3 separate regions of the Homo sapiens genome follow, and regions 2 and 3 are each linked to region 1. The links are contacts of gene promoters, found by promoter capture Hi-C in blood cells and fetal thymus (Javierre and others, 2016). All regions are on one chromosome and are shown on one strand. Each heading gives the region's core, a stretch centred on a gene start or on the middle of the fragment in contact. The rest is flanking DNA. Distances are from core to core; before and after follow the strand shown.

The links. The method cuts DNA at HindIII sites, captures the fragments that hold promoters and counts their contacts. A CHiCAGO score of 5 or more calls a contact.
Region 2: a fragment that was not itself captured here is called in contact with the fragment with the promoter of ARSK in region 1 in 1 of 17 cell types (fetal thymus); the score reaches 5.6 in fetal thymus.
Region 3: a fragment that was not itself captured here is called in contact with the fragment with the promoter of ARSK in region 1 in 1 of 17 cell types (fetal thymus); the score reaches 6.2 in fetal thymus.

Annotation. Positions count from the first base shown.
Region 1 is chr5:95,553,198-95,557,518 of GRCh38, forward strand. ARSK (arylsulfatase family member K) reads left to right here and starts at 1,904. Exons shown (of 8, transcript NM_198150.3): 1 at 1,904-2,207. The coding sequence starts at 2,082. SKIC3 (SKI3 subunit of superkiller complex) reads right to left here and starts at 1,780. Exons shown (of 43, transcript NM_014639.4): 1 at 1,739-1,780. The HindIII fragment of the contact is 6,579 bases long and covers 1-1,979 here.
Region 2 is chr5:98,917,969-98,922,481 of GRCh38, forward strand. All of the region lies in intron 2 of CHD1 (chromodomain helicase DNA binding protein 1), which reads right to left. Among named protein-coding and RNA genes, the nearest start is that of CHD1-DT, 8.3 kb to the right of the region's middle. The HindIII fragment of the contact is 2,275 bases long and covers 2,041-4,315 here.
Region 3 is chr5:91,374,250-91,378,351 of GRCh38, forward strand. ARRDC3 (arrestin domain containing 3) reads right to left here. Exons shown (of 8, transcript NM_020801.4): 3 at 2,372-2,519; 4 at 1,262-1,364; 5 at 673-929; 6 at 1-27. Among named protein-coding and RNA genes, the nearest start is that of ARRDC3-AS1, 4.0 kb to the right of the region's middle. The HindIII fragment of the contact is 4,797 bases long and covers 1-4,102 here.

The DNA of each region.
Region 1 (4,321 bases), core at 654-3,153:
CAAATCACTGCAGCACCTGCTCCTATTGACACTGCCAAGGGGAGAAAGAAGAAAAAGATGTATTCTTGTAAGCCTGTCATCAGAGTACATGTCCTGTGGAAACAAGGCTGTAGAGAGTAAGCACAGTTTATGGAATCAGACACAAAATTAAATATAACTTTTATGAATTTAAATGTCAGTCAATATTGTCACTATGGTAGAAAATACGTTCTACATTCCAAATTAACTCAAAACAAATTTGTTTTTATGAGAGAGCCCACTTGTATTACCTTCCGTGCTGTATTATTATTTCATGTATGCTTGGTTTTGCTTCCCTGAAATCTAAACTCATGTAAACTGAGACTATTGTTTAGGGGTTTTTTTGTTTTTGTTTTTTTTTTGAGATGGAGTTTTGCTCTTGTTGCCCAGGCGGAGTGCAAAGGTGCGATCTCAGCTCACTGCAACCTCCACCTCCTGGGTTCAAGTGATTCTCCTGCCTCAGCCTCCCTAGTAGCTGGGATTACAGGCGCCCGCCACCACGCCCAGTATTTTGCGTATTTTTCGTAGAGACGGGGTTTCACCATGCTGGCCAGGCTGGTCTCGAACCCCTAACCTTCGGTGATCCGCCCGTCTCGGCTTCCCAAAGTGCTGGGATTACAGGCGTGAGCCACCGCGCCCAACACTGTTTACGTTTTTGCATGCTCCCGCAGATCTTTATCATGCTGCTTGAGTAACAATTCTGCTACACTAACAGATAAACTAACTGCAGACAGAGCATTTAGTGAGTTACGGCACAGACTCTTCAATTTTCAGTCGTGCTCTGACTGGCTCCCTGTGTAAACTCAGGCCAGTCATTTAACCTCTCTAAGCCTGTTTTCCTATCTGCAATATGGTGAAAGTGAGGATTATAGAAAATATTCCATATAAAAGTACGTGGCACGCAGCAGATGCTCAGTAAATGCTTAGTATAACGCTCAGCACCTAAGTGCCATGTGAGTATTAAATAAACAAATCTGTTCCTTACTACAATTATCTTAGGCAAAAAAAAACCTGCCAGATATTAGTATTCAGTTGACTTAAGTAAGTAGTATAACTCCTCTTTTAACTGTCAGAATATTAAAACTACTAGTGTGATGTGCAAATTATATACCCGAAACTAGATACAGAAATTGGAATTTGGCTTTGGGACAGAAATCTGCTTCTTCCAGAACTCTCCAAAGGAATTCAACAGTCAAAAGAGACCGGTTTTTATTCTGCAGCAAAACAATGATATTCTGAACCTACGTCAACTAACTGAACATGTCACACAGCCCATTTCCCCCTCCAGTTTCGCTTATCTCCTTTGCTCTCTGAAGGCAAGGAACAGCTATGCTTTCCCCTGCCTACAGCCTGAAACTTCTTACTAGGCCCCGCTCCTCGCCCCATGGGAGCACAGTAAATCCTGACTGCACGGGGTAAGAGAAGCAATAAGATGAGACAGGCTAGAGATTTCCCTGGGAAGGTATTCGGGGGGGTCTAAGGCATTCACGGCGCACCTGAGGCGGTCCACCCAGAGGCCCCACAAGGCACCGCCCTATTCAACTTAAGTGACAGCCGCGCCGCCACCTCATCGCCGCCCAGTTCACGCTCTCGCCGAACACTCAGCCACGCTTGCGCGGCCCAAAATGAACAGCCCCGGCCCCGATCCTTTCTTTCTCTAAGTACCATTTCAATCGCCTTTAGGATCCCTTGTGCAAAACCGACAGAAATCCAAACCCACCTGGAGCAGATGCTCCTCTTCTACAAACGCCGAGGCTGCAATGAGAGCGCATGCGCCTTTCCCAGGACTCATTCACGTGACTGGAAGTGGCTGGGTTCTGATTTGCTCGGTATTTGATTAAAAGGTCTTAACGTGGGTAAAAGCGGGAATTTCTCTGTTGCGCATGTGCGCGCTCTCCGCCTGATAGGAGTTGTAGTTCTGCGGGTGAAGCTCGGCGTTACTATCAAGCAACCAAACTGCAAGCTTTGGGAGTTGTTCGCTGTCCCTGCCCTGCTCTGCTAGGGAGAGAACGCCAGAGGGAGGCGGCTGGCCCGGCGGCAGGCTCTCAGAACCGCTACCGGCGATGCTACTGCTGTGGGTGTCGGTGGTCGCAGCCTTGGCGCTGGCGGTACTGGCCCCCGGAGCAGGGGAGCAGAGGCGGAGAGCAGCCAAAGCGCCCAATGTGGTGCTGGTCGTGAGCGACTCCTTCGTAAGTACCGCGAGGCAGGGGAGGGGCGCCCCGCTGGGGATCGGCGACCTCACCGCCGCCGCCTGTGCTGCAGGCTTTGGGGAGCAGAACCTGAGACATTTTCAAACACCTTTTACCCCGATGCAAAGAAAGAAATACATTTTATGTGAGGCCCCGTGTACTCACACGTACACCACATACCTATGCAAACATGTAAAACAATAGTGAAACACTGAAAACATCTTTGCAGATCTTTTTTTTTTAATACTGACCTCGATTCGCTAAATTATTTTACCACGACTAATGAACTTTCAGTCCATACCCCCGTTTGGTTTAATTGTGTGGTAAAATAACATTCTGCATCTCCATAAAAGCGTGTTAGCTTTCCAAAAGTCATTTTCCAGTTCACCTCAAGTTTGCAGGAATTCATGTTTGGGTGAGAAGTGAAGAAAGTTTATTTTTATTACCCAGGTCTGTGATAATCCTGTTAGTGCTGATTCAAATGGAATCGTTGGTATAACTTGATTCACTCCCCCGTATTCCAGAGAAATTGTGTGTATGTGTGTGTGTTGGTAATGTGGCTGAATCCCAAACTTAAACAGTTTTTGAAACTTTCCCAAGCCAAAGGTGCTACTGTCAACCTTACGCGATGCTTTTAGGATGATCCATGTTTTAAAAAGTGCTGCTTAGACAATTGTTTGGTTATTAATTGTAATATTAGTTTATTATCACTCGGTGTTACTGTGGTCACACAGATGTTGGTGTTAAGCATATCTGGCACTAAAGAGTGTTTGTAATCATATGTTGTATTTCCTTTCTCGTAGATTCCTGATGATTAAAATTACATAGTCTGGATGTGCCCATGGGATTTTTTGAAAATATTACTTAAAGTTATCTTTGTGATTTAAACTTAGAGAATGGGCAGTACTGGAAATTGACTAGATGGCATTTTATTACAGAGTGCTCTTGTAATCAAAGGCAAATGAAGGAAGCAGGATTGTGCAGAGGAGAAGCTGAATTTTGTTGCCATCTTATGAATGACAGTTCTCAAACTAGTATGGTGCTTCAGAGCTGCTTTCCAATAGGAGTGAGGAGAACAGACCTTTCCACCTGCATGTTGGATGGCCACTGGTTGTGGGCTGCTCCTAGAATGGGGCATGGTGTTGGGCAAAGCAGCTGTCTTCAGCAGAGGCAATTGTTCATTCCTAAAAGGGAATCCGAATGTGGATCACAACATCCCAGAAACTTCCAAAGATGACTGAGATATATAGGTTTGTTATTTTTTTTAGTGTAGTATGAATGCATAGATTTTTCTATATTTGTGCTTAAATTTTTTGCATTCACGGCCGGGCGCGGTGGCTCACGCCTGTAATCCCAGCACTTTGGGAGGCCGAGGTGGGCGGATCACGAGGTCAAGAGATCAAGACCATCCTGGCTAACACAGTGAAACCCCGTCTCTACTAAAAATACAAAAAAATTAGCCGGGCGTGGTTTCGGGCGCCTGTAGTCCCAGCTACTCGGGAGGCTGAAGCAGGAGAATGGCGTGAACCTGGGAGGCGGAGCTTGCAGTGACCTGATATCGCACCACTGCACTCCAGCCTGGGCGACGGAGCGAGAGTCCGTCTCGAAAAAAAAATAAAAATAAAAATAAAAAAATTTTTAAAAAATAAAAAATAAAAAAAATTTTTGCATTCACATACTTGTTAATATTCAAACTGTCCTATCTTTGGCCAGTGGAAGCCCCTTCAGGTGGTTCTGAGTCCTTTTGACCCATCCCCATTAGTATTTGACAGCTTGCTTTAACAGAGTTCCATGTCCACAATACATATTTCCTGTCCCATCTTGTATTTAGAGACCACAGTCTGAGTGTTAGGGTGTTCATTGCATCTAGACCTTTCCAGTGGACAAATCTAGAAAGTATATAATATTTTAGAATGAGAAAAATAAATTGTGAGATCATACTGATACTTTCCATTCAAATTTAAGATTACAAGTTTATTCTTTGATTTTTATACTTATATCTTTTTTGTTTTATGCCAAATATTTTGGTCTAAATGCATTAATGCAATTACTTATTTGCTTTATCCAAACATATAATATGTATATATCAATGTGTTTGAAAATAAGACTGTAAT
Region 2 (4,513 bases), core at 1,928-4,427, 3.4 Mb after region 1:
CACGTGGGGAATACAGTCCCCATTGGCAGTGTTTTTTCTGCTATGCTTCCTTTTTTTTCCTTCCTTCACCTGGAACTAAGTCACAGAAAAACTTTTTTTTTTTTTTTGAGATGGAGTCTCGCTCTGTCGCCCAGGCTGGAGTGCCGTGGCACGATCTCGGCTCACTGCAAGCTCTGCCTCCTGGGTTCATGCCATTCTCCCGCCTCAGCCTCCCGAGTAGCTGGGACCACAGGTGCCCGCCAACACGCCCAGCTAATTTTTTTGTATTTTTAGTAGAGACGGGGTTTTCACCATATTAGCCAGGATGGTCTCGATCTCCTGACCTTGTGATCCACCCGACTCGGCCTCCCAAAAGTGCTGGGATTACAGATGTGAGCCACCGCGCCTGGCCAAAAACTTTTAACAATGAATAAACCTCAGGTAAAGAACTGCAAAGCTAGATGTCAAATACATTCTCCTTATTAGGGGACTTGCATACTTCTTTAATGGGGGACTATGACTTCCATAAACATCTTCCTGAGCCGGGCGCGGGAGCTCACACCTGTAATCCCAGCACTTAGGGAGGCCAAGGCGGGCGGATCACGAGGTCAGGAGATCGAGACTATCCTGGCCAACATGGTGAAACCCCGTCTGTACGAAAAATACAAAAATTAGCTGGGCATGGTGACGCGTGCCTGTAATCACAGCTACTTGAGAGGCTGAGGCAGGAGAATCACTTGTTGGAGGATGCAGTGAGCCAAGATCACACCACAGCACTCCAGCCTGGCAACATAGCAAGACTCTTCAAAAAAAAAAAAAAACAAAAAAAAAAACTTCCTCTCCAACACCCTTCTGAATATATATCATTTGTTCTTTCTTTTCAAACTACATTTCTCATCATTATGAAAATTACAAAAGTTAAAGCATGCTATGAAAACTTTCCAAATAGCTCATTAAATGACTCTAGTAATCTACCCTCCATTTTCTTTTTACCTCACTTGCATGCCCATTTGGCCCCACAAATTTGAATATACTCAATTGCATATTTAAACTGGCTATTCCATTATCACCCCTAGATTATAATAATCTTTCTTGAAGTTAATGTATAACTTTACAACATGGCAAGATGCTGAATGACTACAGGTGAATAGCTTCATATACATGCATATGAATTTAACATGAATACAATTCTCCTGGGAATCTTATTAAAATGGAAATTCTGGCTCAGTAGATCTGGGACCTTTTAAGATGAAGGAATTGTTCTGTACATTACTGGAGTACAGAAAAAATGATTCTATGCACTTGTCAAAACCCAAAGAACTGTGCATCATTGAATAAGCATTAATATATGCAAATTTTAAAAATCAACCAGTATGATGATGATCACAGGATGGAATGCAGATTGTGACAAATGAATCTAATTTTATTATAAATTTATCACATAATTACACTCAAAGGGGTGAGAGAAAAATGAACTTGACCAACATCAGAAAACAGTGTTTTGACTAGAAACTTAAAGGCTAAATATTAAAGTGTACTGTATGTAAACACCGTATTTTAGTTGCGAAATTAGTTTCTCTTGATAAAGTATATCCTAAAAATTCTAAAACTGCTTTACATGTATATTATGAGTGAATATATAAGCAGATAAATGGTGGATGGTCAGAGCCAGGTTTCTCAATGTTGAGTAAGGAAGTTACAAAGCAATAAGAAAGAAAGGTTAGAATGAACCCTATAGCACAGGATTAGAGTTGGAGCCATCGGTATGAACTCACGTTTATGTATGAGATAATATGTATACAGACGTAAGGATACAGAAATGACTATAGATACGTAGGTATACATAATATATCTACATATATTACCTAGCTCTGTCTACTTTGTTCACTGAGAGGAAATAAAAGCAGTGACACTTGAATATCAACAAGCACACCCAGTACCCAAATCTTGGTTTCTAATGCCATTCTCCAAAAAAATGGAACCAAGGCTCCTTGGAGAGTGGCTGATTCTAGGGTAAAAGTAAGGCAGTGTGTAAAAGAAACATACGAGCCAACCTAAAAAAGCTTCCAAGAGCCAAGGCTAGATCAATTTAAGTAACAAAAAAGTCAACTATTATACAATAGATACATAAAATACCTATTATACATAAATATATACAAATATATATTTTATAGAGTTGTAATCCACTAAGCTGGATTACAACTCAAAGCACATACATAAATCCATACATATATAAACGATTTAGAAATTTCCTTACAGAAATTCCATTTAATATATGTAAATACTCCCCCCACCAGGAGATGGAATTTAATTCCTATCCCAACCCTCTTGAAAGTAGGCTAGACAAAATGACTTGCTTCCAAAGAATATATTATGGAAAGGGAAAAACAGTAACTTTACAGTAGAGAAACTTGCAAATACTACCTTGACCAAGTGAGAGGTTAACACCACCAGTAATGTCATGAGGATAACATGTTTCCCATATGATGTGACTAGCACACTTTATCTTTGTGGTATTCTTTCTAAAAACCAATAACCCTAGTTTATCCTAAGAACAATAGACAAGGCCAGGTGTGGTGGCTCACACACCTGTAATCCCAACACTCTGGGAGGCCAAGGTGGGTGGATTACCTGAGGTCAAGAGTTCAAGATCAGCCTGACCAACACAGAGAAACCCTGTCTCTACTAAAAATACAAAAATTAGCCAGGCATGGTGGTGCACACCTGTAGTCCCAGTCACTCGGGAGGCTGTGGCAGGAGAATCGTTTGAACCCAGGAGGCGGAGGTTGCAGTGAGGTGAGATCGTGCCATTGCACTCCAGCCTGGGCAACAGAGCAAGACGCCGTCTCAAAAAAAAAAAAAAAAAGACAAATCTAGATTTCAAAAACATTCTACAGGATACCTGGCCAGTATTTCTCAAGATGGTTTAGACCATGAAAACTAAGGAAAGACTTAGAAACTCTCACAGATGAAAGGAGACTGGGGAGACGTGACAACTAAATGCAATGTGGCACTCTGGATTTAATCCTACAACAGAAAAGAGGGAGTTAATGGAAAAATCAATGAAATCCAAGTATAGAGTTTAGGTAATAGTTTTTTAAAAAAGAATAAAAAAATAAATAAAATGGCTATAAATCTTGTTTCCCCATCTGGAAAGTGGGAATCATAACAATGTATACATCACAGAAGTTTTGTGAGGATGAACTGTGACAATTCAAGTAATGCACAATGCCCTATGTGCATCATGCTAGGTTAAGGCACAGCAAGAGCTCAACAATCATCAGTTGCCATTGTTACTGCTTCCGGAGAAACGAAACTTACCTAGCCTCTTGCTAGTCCTGCTCAAGACACAATTAATTGGAGGTTCGCAGAGAATGAAAACCATGTATAACAACATCAATAACAAAGTGGCAAGATGCTATGACTCCAGATGAATAGCTTCATATAAATGTATATGAACTTAATACATAAGAATCACTTAGAATCTTGTTAAAATGAAGATTCTGATTCAGTACGTCTGGGGCGAGGCACAAGGTTCTACAGTTATAATAAGCTCCCAAATGATGCCAACACCGCTGGTCCACGGACCACAACTGGTGCAACTTTTCTATTTCTGTAGTTTTAAATATTTCCCATTTTAAAAAAAGGTTAAACATTTTCTCCATTCATCATAAAGTAATACTCATTTTAAAACACAAAACTGCACCATATATAACCAATCAGTCATCAAGATCTTAAACAAGCAGCTACTTAAGCAGAGTAAAAGGGGTAACATCACATTAATGTTTGCCCACACATTATGACTACATACAGAAAAGTAATCTTTGAAAGGTAACTCATACACCATTCTGATCTTTAACCATATAGCCATTCCTGAAGTAAATCATCACTCAAGATAACTTATTTAAAACTAAAAAAAGTCAGCCAGGCGCAGTGGCTCATGCCTGTAATCCCAGCACTTTGGGAGGCCGAGGTGGGTGGATCACAAGGTCAGGAGTTCAAGACCACCAGCCTGGCCAACATGGTGAAATCCCATCTTTACTAAAAATACAAAAATTAGCGGGGCATGGTGGCGGGCACCTATAATCCCAGCTACTCAGGAGGCAGAGGCAGAAAACTGCCAGAACACAGGAGACGGAGGCTGCAGTGAGCCAAGATCGTGCTACTGCACTCCAGCCTGGGCAACAGTGAGACTCCATCTCAATTAAAAAAAAACAAACCACACACACACTAAAAAAAAGTCTACCAGGATTTGAAAAATTTGCTTGCAAATACCACCACAAATCCACACAGCTGCAAATTGATGCTTTGAAATCTTCCAGCATTATCTTTAAAAAGCTTAACTTCAGTTACATAAAACTTTGTGTTGAGCTGTAACTGTTATACAGGTGCATCCTGGCCCACATTTCTTAGTAACTAAATTTCAAGACTGTCAGCAATAGCATAGCAAAAGAGACATATTTTTCCTGTGTATTCTTCTTCCTTTCAGTGAATAGTTATAGAGAGATCTCCAGACAGAAAGAATAGTTAAAAA
Region 3 (4,102 bases), core at 987-3,486, 4.2 Mb before region 1:
CATAGCTCCAGGAATATCCACATATACCTAAACATTGCAAAGAAATATTAAGTTTAGAATGCCAAGTATGATTTCCTTTTCAAAAACTCATAACCAATTTTAATGTTATTTGAAACCCCCATTTACTTCATTTTTAAACTTACATACATGAAAAGTTTCTCTTTTATGTATAATTCTGTATAGTACATTTACATATAAGGTATAATTGTAAGTCAAACTATATAAAGAGTTATGTATTTTATATGTCACTATATATGGAATTTAAAAAAATCAAATCCTGGATGTAAGACAAAACTATGTCATAACTTTAAGACTTAAAAACAAAACAAAAAAAAACACCAAAAACCTCTTGGGCCAGGCACTGTGGCTCATGCCTATAATTCCAACATTTTGGGAGGCCATGGTGGATGGATCACTTGAGCCCAGGAGTTCAAGACCAACCTGGGCGACATGGTCAAACTCCATCACTACAAAAAATACAAAAATTATCCAGGCATGGCTATAGGCACACCTGTAGTCCCAACTACTTGGGAGCTGAGGTGGGAGGATCACTGGAGCCCAGAAAGCAGAGGCTGTAGCGGAGCTGAGACTGTGCCACTGCATTCCAGCCTGGGTGACAGGTGTTTCAAAAAAGAAAAAAGAAAGGAAAAAACCTCTTAAATGTGTACATACCATTAGTGAATATTCCACGCGGATTATACTACAGTCGAGGATAGAGGGAGAAACTGGTGGAATTTTCAGCAACTTGCCATTCCACGTCTCTGTCTTTCCAGATGATAAGGATTCCCCACGCAAGTTAGCCACAAGCTGTTTTACTTCCTTCATTTTCCCTTTGGCATAGAAGGCCTGTGTTTGGTAAATGGCTGCCTTTGGCACCACCATTCGGGAAGAGCAGTTCTCAATCTCAGCAAATATCTGAATTGATTCACCTAGAGAGGGAAAAATATATACATATCTACTGTTAGAAAAAAACAACAAAAGAAGTCAAGATTCTTAAAGCTAAAGTAAGAAAGTGCAACTAACATACATGAAAAGATGTCCCAGGAACTGCAAATAACTTGAGTCATAGAAATGAACTAATCAGTAGCTATTTGAAAAAGGAAACTACATTCTACTTTGTGAAAAAAACAAATGGATAAGCACAATTTGTTATTTCACAAAAGAATACTATATTATGTTTATATTTAGTAGTCATATTATAAATTTAAACACAAAAGCTAAGTGAAGAAAAGTTTTTTGTGGGAATCTACCTCTTACATACCTGGGGTATAGCCCTTCCTTTCAATTTTGGCACTTAAGGATATTGGGCCTGAGGTACAGAACCAGCAACAGAGTGTCTTTTCTTTTGTGCCTGCTTGGGGTGACTGTAAGAAAAAAATTAAGAGAAAAAGGTCAGTGTATGGATTGGTACAATCAATACCAGAATATTTTAAAATATAACCCTAAATTTATGGAAAATTAAAAATTACAACTGGTTTTGCTTTTTTTTTGTATCCAGACATACTTCTTATTTTTTAACTAACCGATGGTTTTGAATTATACCATTACTTTTATTTTCATATAAATTTCCATTCAATTAGAAAAAAAAGGTAAAGGGTTTACAGCCTATCCCATAAACATAGTTTTTTAGCTCACACTATTTACAAATATAGTAATCAAAAACCAACCAAATAAAAAAAACCCTTTCCACATTCCATTTAAACTGCCTTAAAAAGGCAGCAAAGAAAGCAATCTGATTATAATTCCAAATGTTAACATCTTTCTCTGAGACTATTAAAAAATCAATATGTAAAAAAGGAAAATGCCCATTTCTTATGTGCTTTAAAGATGTTACCATTTGTTTAAATCAAATAAAGTTTTAAGTCAAATTTGAATTATTTTCAGACAAATGCAATTAAAAATAGATTTCTTTAAAAAAGGAGTTTTTTAATGAAACTAATGATTCCCCATTATTTGACAACTATCCCTCTATTGGAATAACAAAGTATAGTACAAATTTTAGATTATGATATTGTCAAGTAAGTGATATTGTATTATAATAAAAGATACTACTGCTCTTCTTCCACTCAAATCATCCAAGGACCAGATCTGTTTTTTGTTATGGCTGTCATACTCTGAGTAAGAGATACTTCATATCATATACTGGTCTTAGTTTTATATTTACTTAAAGGTATACTACAATGTCAAAAATATGAGCATATTTTTCATTAATTTCAGTGTTCTTGACTGTATTTAAGAAAATGTATATTTATGAAATTTTAAAAGAAAACCAGTATTTTTAAATTATGACAACTGCATAGTTTAGGTGATTGATTATTCTTTAATATTTATATGCCAAAAACAAAGAATAAATAATTCAGTCAATTCTTACCAGTAATGAAGGAGTGTTGATATCTATATGCTCAAAGACTGTAAATTCCTTCTTTAATTTTACTGGTAGTAGCCAAGGCCTGTGCAATTCGGCTTTCACCCAATAGCGCACACTGCCATGTCGGCCTTCGAATGAGGTAGCGAGTGGTCTGTGCAGAATATAAAGGTCAATATATTAATTTTATACCTCTTTCTAACAATTACACAGTAGGTCAGAATAGAAGTGTTAATATATTGTATTGTTTATGTTCCAATGAGGTATCAAACATATAATTTAAAAAATTTCCAAAGGGATAAGTCACTGGGGAAAAAACTTCCTATTTCCAACTAAGAATAAACAATAAATATCTTTAAAATTTTGCTTTAAAAAGCCAGAAGAATACAATCCATTTAAACTAAGAGGAGGCTACTTTTAATGATGGTGGCAAAATCATGAAAGTTTAATGGGCATTTTTTGAAAAGGCCAAGAATTCAAACACAAAGTTGAGAATGGTTTAACTATTTCTACTGATAAATTCTAGACACTGGTTAAACATTCAGACCAAATTCCCTATAGTACTCCACTTCTCATTAGCCGGGAATTATCATCTTTTAATAGCAACTAACTAAGGTCTAGAAAAGGCCTGGAATAGTCATTATAGTTTCAAAAATTTCACATTTCCTAAGTTTACTGAAAAACTACTTTTGTATCTCTCAGTTTACTCATGTTCTAATTCTTGTTTGGCTGTTCTCTAACTTTACGGGCTTCAAAAGAAAAAGATATAGTCCTCTTGATCTATGTCAAGAGAATAAAAAAAAATTTTTTTTAACTCTGTCAGATTTTACTTGTGGAAGGTTTTATTTTAGCAAGTTCAGTATCTTTTTCATAATTTCATTAGTAAAATACTCAATGTTCAGTTATTTACAAGAGTGCTAGCTTAGATTAGCATAAGAAACACTGGTGTTTTCATAATTTTTTTTTTTTTTTGCATTTTAGACTCCCACATTAACTTGTATAGCAGAGAAATAAAATCTTAAACTGTATGCTAATAGTTATCCAAAATTTATGTTAAATGACTTTGGTTTATGGATAGAACTTTAACATTAAATGACGCTGAAAATACTCAGGCCCCATATTGGCCTTATTCTATCAACAGACTTTAATATTTTTCTCAGAAATTAGATGAGGGCATTATATTCCAAATAAAATTCTCAAATAATACAGTAAATAGAATTTTCTAAAAAATACCATTTATGACTTCTCTCTCTATATATAACATCTCAAGCACTAGAATTAACAAATGCAGAATTAATGTACATTTGTCACCTGACAAAATCTTATGTAATCTGTTTATTCTCCAGAATAATCACCACAAGTGCCATTTTGCAGGTTTTAATATTTGTTAAAAGGCATTTTTTTTTAAAAAGTTTGTATCATCTCTTCCAACAATCTGTCATTACTTTAAGAATATACCACTTTCCTTTTTCCTTTCTTACTAGATTCCAAGTTTTATATTAATGTATCCTTGATGCATGTTTCCTTTTAAGCCTGGGTCATATCTCTTGTGTGACCTTCCCAATAGTTCTTTGTACAGAAGCTATTAAGTTCATATCAGAAGAAAAACATTTCTAAAGTTAGGATATTCCTAATTATTTTTATTTTCGAAACTTACTGCTATTGGTTAGTATTAGCAGAAAAAGTAGAATATAGAATTTTTTATAAATTGAAGCTACTAAGACTTGATAGGGTCTA